2 separate regions of the Homo sapiens genome follow, and region 2 is linked to region 1. Evidence: promoter capture Hi-C in 16 types of primary human blood cells and fetal thymus (Javierre and others, 2016). All regions are on one chromosome and are shown on one strand. Each heading gives the region's core, a stretch centred on a gene start or on the middle of the fragment in contact. The rest is flanking DNA. Distances are from core to core; before and after follow the strand shown.

Evidence for each region. The method cuts DNA at HindIII sites, captures the fragments that hold promoters and counts their contacts. A CHiCAGO score of 5 or more calls a contact.
Region 2: a fragment that was not itself captured here is called in contact with the fragment with the promoter of PRELID3A in region 1 in 2 of 17 cell types (naive CD8 T cells and total CD8 T cells); the score reaches 7.3 in naive CD8 T cells.

What each region holds. Positions count from the first base shown.
Region 1 is chr18:12,406,676-12,410,227 of GRCh38, forward strand. It overlaps PRELID3A (PRELI domain containing 3A), which reads left to right and starts at 1,254. Exons shown (of 7, transcript NM_001142405.2): 1 at 1,254-1,332. The coding sequence starts at 1,301. RefSeq lists enhancers at 653-1,314, 1,315-1,974, 1,832-2,081 and a silencer at 1,052-1,631. The HindIII fragment of the contact is 9,540 bases long and covers 1-3,164 here.
Region 2 is chr18:12,920,476-12,923,917 of GRCh38, forward strand. No RefSeq gene overlaps it. Among named protein-coding and RNA genes, the nearest start is that of SEH1L, 26 kb to the right of the region's middle. The HindIII fragment of the contact is 1,041 bases long and covers 837-1,877 here.

The DNA.
Region 1 (3,552 bases), core at 4-2,503:
AACTTCGTTTGTGGCAGTGCAGGGTACTTTGCAAAGCTAAAAAGTAGTTTATGCGAAAGGGAGACTCTTTTTCCTTAGAGGATTTGCCAAGTTGTAATCACAAATTCTTTTTGAGATACACGTACATTTTTTTAAAGCTAAATAAGATTTCCCCCCAGTTTTATAACTCAAGAATGTATTTTCTCAAGGACTTGGGAGTCATCTCTTTGAAATGTCATCCCCGTCTCCCAGTTTTGTGGGAGGGTAGGAGCCCAGCTACCAGAGAGCACCTGGCTTCAAATTGTAAACCTACCTCCTGTCATAAAGGTATGAAAATTCATTTTTCCTTTGGATAAAGGCAATTAGCAAACGCAAATGGCCACTGCATTTACCAATGGCCACTCCATCATCAGGCGAATTTAGGATGAACTCTGCGACAAATGGTGTAGTGGAGTCCCCTCCCCGGAGGGCTGTCTCGTTTACCTCGGGAGCATGCGTGGGGTAGGTTGCATCCTCCCGGCTGTTTGATACAGGCTGAGATTTCTGTCTTTGCAGCCTATTTGGCGGATTGCTTGTGATGCACATCACATGCTGGTTTTGTTTTGTTTTGTTTTGTTTTGTTTTGTTTTGTTTGAGACGGAGTCTCGCTCTGTTGCCCAGGCTGGAGTGCAGTGGCGGGATCTCGGCTCACTGCAAGCTCCGCCTCCCGGGTTCACGCCATTCTCCTGCCTCAGCCTCCCGAGCAGCTGGTACTACAGGCGCCCGCCACCACGCCCGGCTAATTTTTTGTATTTTTAGTAGAGACGGGGTTTCACCGTGTTAGCCAGGATGGTCTTGATCTCCTGACCTCGTGATCCGCCCGCCTCGGCCTCCCAAAGTGCTGGGATTACAGGCGTGAGCCACCGCGCCCGGCCTCACATGCTGGTTTAATGTTTGTTCAAGACCCAAACTGCAGTGGAGTTTTGAGGGTTGGCAGGTTTGTTTTTCATCACACGTCCCCGACAGTACAAACCGGCGTAGCTGGACAGGGCCTTGGGAGAATTTGGACAGTGGGAGTAAGGACGAGCGTCGCCTCCTACGCCCGCGGCATCTGCAGCAAGCGCGCATCGCGCACCCCAGGGTAGCAGCGCAGGTCTGGGGCTGCGCCACAGCCGCGCCCGCAGAGCTATTTTTAGCCGCTGCAGCCAGCCTAGCCACCAGACGGGGTGGGCGGCATCCAAGGGCGCCCCGCCCATCGAGGCCCCGCCCACGCCGCGCCCGGAGCCGCGCGGCCCGAAGCACCCGGCCCGGATCGCAGAGCCCGCGCCCTGCGCCGGCGGCAATGAAGATCTGGAGCTCGGAGCACGTGTTTGGGTGAGGCCGGGCTGAGGGCCGCGGTGGGGCCGTCCAGACGCCGGCTCCTGCTCCCGAGCCCGGCTGGAGCGGTCCAGGAAAGGCCGGACCTCACAGCGGGCCTCGCGGAGATCCCCGCCCCGCGCCGGCCGTTCCCAGACCGCAACTTCGGCGTCCCGGAGAGGGCACGCGCGCTTCCCCGGGACCGCGGTCTGGGCGAGGCTCTGCGCCGGGTACGGCCTCTCCCCCGGCGTGCGCAGGGGCCTGGCTGCAGGCACAGAGGCCCCGCTGGTGGTCGACAGCCAGGGCGGGGGCAGCCGGAGCGGGGGCGGCCGGGGCGGGGGCGGCCGGAGCCGGGGGGGCGGCCGGGGGCCTGGCGCTCGCTGCTCTCCTTGGGGTCGGGAGCAGGGCAGGGGAGAGGCCTGCAAGCTGGCGCCTTTGCTGAGATTGTCATAAACCTTCCGCGCGTTTCACGGAGGGCCCACGGCGGGCTGTGAGCTCTGGAGGAAGCTAAAGGGGCAGAAGGCATTTCGGGGGCCCTGGCTCTGAACTCACTTGTAGGCATGGAAGGCCTCCAAGCTAGCGTGGAAAACCTCGAACTGTTTAAAAATGCTCCCCCGGCACACGGATGGAAGTGGAGGTCATTATCTTAAGTGAAGCCAGGCCCAGAAAGACAAGTATCGCATGTTCCCACTCCTAAGTGGGTGCTTAAGAATGTGTTCACATGGATGTGGAGAGTGGAACGTCAGATGATGGAGACTCTGAAGGGTGAGGGGGTGGGTGCAGGGAGGATAATGAGAATTGCTTAATGGGTGCAAGACACCTTCCCGGGTAATGCATACCCTAGAAGTCCTGACTTGACCACTACGAAATTTATGCATGTAACGAAATTGCACATATACTCCATAGAATTGTGCAAATAAAAAGAAGAAAAAAGTGCCCTCCTAACCTAAGTGGTATCTTTTCCTTAAGTCAGTGATCTGTGACACACTGAAATTATTCTTTAATGTTTATTTACAGCAACAAAGATTTTTTAATTATCTGACCTCACTTAAGCATTAAATATTTTATTTTGGGGGGAAAAAAAGTACTGCGTGGAAGGAAATTGTCATCCTTTGACTCTTTTTATTTATTTTTTTCGAGACAGAGTCTCATTCTGTCACCCAGGCTGGGTTTTTTTTTTTTTTTTTTTTTTTTTGAGACATAGGCTCGCTGGGTCACCCAGGTTGGAGTGCAATGGCGCGATCTTGGCTCACTGTAACCTCCCCCTCCTGGGTTCAAGTGATTCTCGTGCCTCAGCCTCCTGAGTAGCTGGGACTACAGGTGTGGGCCATCACGCCCGGCTAATTTTTGTATTTTTAGTAGAAACAGGGTTTCGCCATGTTGGCCAGGCTGGTCTCGAGCTCCTGACCTCAGGTGATCCACCCGCCTCGGCCTCCCAAAGTGCTGGGATTATAGGTGTGAGCCACCGTGACTGGCCTGACTTTAAACATGTAAAATTATAATAAAAATATATCAAGTGGTTTCAAAACCTCTGAAATTATTTTTCATGAAGTCTTTAGACTTGATGGGATCTAATTTTTTGTATGGCTTGCAGTGTTTCTCAAGTGGGTTTCCATCAGCAACAAGGATGGGGGCATCACTGAGCCGTCTGGATGCTGTGGACAGTTAAGTCATTGCATACCAGGAGTGCCAGGTGGTTGGGGCTCAGTTTTCTCATGGAATGGCCGAGGTCTGCCCTAGAGGTTTGTGAAATGTCTGTGGACAAGCACAAATGAATAGCTAGCTGTGAAAAATCACAGTTGATGCTTTTGAAAATTGTTGCAGCTGCTAACTCCCATTTATTTTTTTTAAGCTTTACCGAAGGATACTTTACATACCATAAAATTATACACATTTTAAGTGTATAATTCATTAAGTTTTGCTAAGTATGACCATCACACACACAGTCCAGTCTTAGAACACTTCTGTCCTCCTGCAGAGGTGCCCCATGCTCATTAGCTTCACATTTTACCCCATTTTCACCCCTGCCCCAGGCAACCAGGAATCTTTTCTGTTTCTATGAATTTGCCTTGTTGGGACATTGCATGTAAATGTCATCCTGCAATATGGGGTGTTTTGTGTCTGTCTGCTTTCACTTAGCATGATTTTCTTGAGGCTCACCATGTGGTAGAGTGTCAGTATTTCATTTCTCCCATCATTCATTTTGTATTCCTGGCACCCCGCCGGGGCCCGGCGCCT
Region 2 (3,442 bases), core at 107-2,606, 510 kb after region 1:
ACCATAAAAAAGGATGAATTAATGGCATTTGCAGCAACCTGGATGAGACTGGAGACTATTATTCTAAGTGAAGTAACTCAGGAATGGAAAACCAAACATCATATGTTCTCACTCATAAGTGGGAGCTAAGCTATGAGGATGCAAAGGCATAAGAATAACACAATGGACTTTGGGGGATAAAGGGCAAGGGGTGGGAAGGGGATGAGGGATAAAATACTACAAATTAGGCCAGGCACGGTGGCTCACGCCTGTAATCCCAGCACTTTGGGAGGCCGAGGTGAGGTCAGGAGTTCAAGACCAGCCTGCCCAACACGGTGAAACCCCATCTCCACTAAAAATACAAAAATTAGCCGGGCATGGTAGCAAGCACCTGTAATCCCAGCTATTTGGGAGGTTGAGGCAGGAGAATCGCTTGAACCCGGGAGACGGAGGTTGCAGTGAGCCGAGATCGTGCCACTGCACTCCAGCCTGGTTGACAGAGCGAGACTCAGTGAAAAACAAACAAACCTACAAATTGGGTGCAGTGCGTACTGCTCGGATGATAGGTGCACCAAAATCTCAGAAATCAGCGCTAAAGAACTTATTCATGTAACCAAACGGCACCTGTTTCCCAGTAACCTATGGAAATAAAAATTAAAAAAAAAAATAAATAAAAGCTGCTGAAACCACTTAGCCTCCTTCACAGTGAAAATGGTGCTATGTTTTTCACGCCTATTTGCAAACTTTGTGCCAAACTAAATGTTAACAAGAACTTTAAAGAAAAGTTTCACCTCCAAACCACAAACAGTGCTCTGAAAGTGCAAAAACAGCAAAAAGTCAAACACAAACAAGCCTAAAGCTTTGTGAGGCCAGAAGAAACCACAGGTCATAGAAAAATACACTTTCCCTTTCACACTCTCAGTATCATACTCGGGGGCTGTCATGAGAGCGAGGGTGTCTGGGCTTAATACAGTCACCTTGCAGCACCTAAGCCATGACACCTCAGCTATCTGCGTGTAGCACAAGGAGGACACCGAACAGGGATGGAATGTGCACATCACTGAGAGCGTTTTTATGTTGACTTTCCTCTCTGTATCAGCACCAGAACGTCTTCCTGTTAGCTTCAGTGGTCTCTGTGTTGTCAAGGAAAATGACCCACAGTAACTGTCTACTCACCAGCTTTGCCTAAGTCACACTTATAAGGCTCTTGATGCGTAACAGGCTTATTAGTTTCCAAGCAGGTAGCATTGATTGGTAAAGGAGGAAAAGACTCCCCATTTATGCTATCAATCAGCCTCTCTTACAGTAATCTTTTAGGCATTTCAACAGCAAAATAGGCAGGTGTTTACCAAAAAAGCCTTCATAAGCACATCAAAGTTCATATTTTAGCTGCTTAAGAAAAAAAATTAACTATGGGACATTTCCATAAACAATAGACCAGGCACGGTAGCTCATGCCTGTAATCCCAGCACTCTGGGGGGCCGAGGCAGGTAGATCGTCTGAGGTCAAGAGTTCTAGGCCAGCCTGGCCAACATGGTGAAACTCTGTCTCTACCAAAAATACAAAACATTAGCTGGGCGTGGTAGTGCACGCCTGTAATCCCAGCTACGTGGGAGGCTGAAGCATGAGAATCACTTGAACCCGGGAGGTGGAGGTTGCAGTGAGCTGAGATCACACCACTGCACTCCAGCCTGGGCAACAAAGTGAGACTCCATCTCAATAAATAAATAAATAAATAAATAAATAAATAAATAAATAAATAAATATTTTGTCTTAATGACTCATTTGCAGAAGTCAATGTATCACTCAAGGCAATGAAGTTTAGCATTATAGAGTTCAAGATCATATACAAAGACCTGTCCTCAAATTCCCCTCAAATGAAAAACAGTATGCCAGTAAGCTTAGTAAATAATTCGTGGAAAAAAAAATACATCTCTAGAAAATGATTTTTTTAAATTTTATTCATTAGATTGCACTGTTTATAACAGCAACAAATTGGATGCCTGCCAGTAGAAAACTGGTTAAAATACTGGCACATAGTAAATGCTCACTAAATGCTTACTGAATGAATACATGAATGATAACAGTTTCCATTGCTTCCAAAGCTCCCTTGCTTCCCTCCTATTCTCTAGGCTCCTGTTGATTCTGTGAGCTCCAAAAGCTCTCCAGTAAATCTTGTCTCTGTTTATGATTGCAACCCAAAAAAGCTGATGGATACATAATATTAAATGTGGTAAAAAACCAAATTCACTTTATACCAATTCCATTCTACAAACAATATTATATTTCAGTTCAATATAATTATAAAGGTATAGTTTTAGAATTAGTTCCGTTGTTTCCTGATATACCAAATCCTACTTCAACCCTTAAGAGGTTTAAAAATAAAGTGAGGTCTCTTCACTTGACATATGTATCAGAATGGAACACTGGTAATTAGAAGACTTATCAGAGATCATAAGCTCCAATGGACAGAGATGTCCCAGACAGTCACAAGGTGAAAAAAGGTACACCAGTGACAATTAGGAAGACGCACAGGTTGGTGGTAGGCATATTGATTTAGTCGCAAGTAGAATTGGCCAAGTAGGACAATGAAGAAGGATACTGAAGGATATTGAAAGGATACTGAAAAACAGGGTCAAGGAAAGCAGAAGGCGCTCTTTACTGGAGGACTTAATACAAAATAGGTAGCAGGGAAACCCAAGATTATCCTATTCAAAATATGGGACCTGAAGGGCAGATCTAGTAGGGGAAAGCAGTTCTATGCTGTAACTTACACTCCACAAGTACTGCCATCCAAATAGCCTGTATTTGGGCTGGGTGCCGTGATTCACACTTGTAGTCTCAGCGCTTTGGGAGGCTGAGGCGGGAGAATCATTTGAAGCCAGGAGTTAAAGACCAGCTTGGGTAACAAAGTGAGAGCCCATCTGTACAAAATAAAAAGTTAGCTGGGGCCAGGCGCTGTGGCTCATGCCTGTAATCCCAGCACTTTGGAAGACCGAGGCAGGTGGATCACCTGAGGTCAGGAGTTCGAGACCAGCCTGGCCAACATGGTAAAACCCCATCTCTACTAAGAATATAAAAATTAGCCGGGCGTGGTGGCACGCGCCTGTAATCCCCGCTACTCAGGAGGCTGAAGCAGAAGAATTGCTTGAATCCGGGAAATAGAGATTGCGGTGAGCCGAGATTGCGCCACTGCACTCCAGCCTGAGAGACAGAGTCAAAACAAAACAAAACAAAAAACAAAAAACAAAAAAACAAAACAAAAAAACAACCAAAAAAAAAACTTTAAGATAAAAGAATGTATGAGTTGGCTTTCATTCATTTATGGTTTGAACAAATATATTTGCATTTGCCAAGATGTATTAGTCCCTTATTCTACCTTGATAAAACCATGATCCGGGTGCAATGAGGCATGAGAAACCTTGGCAGCAATTGCCTTCATGCTGTCCAGAGGCAGAAACAT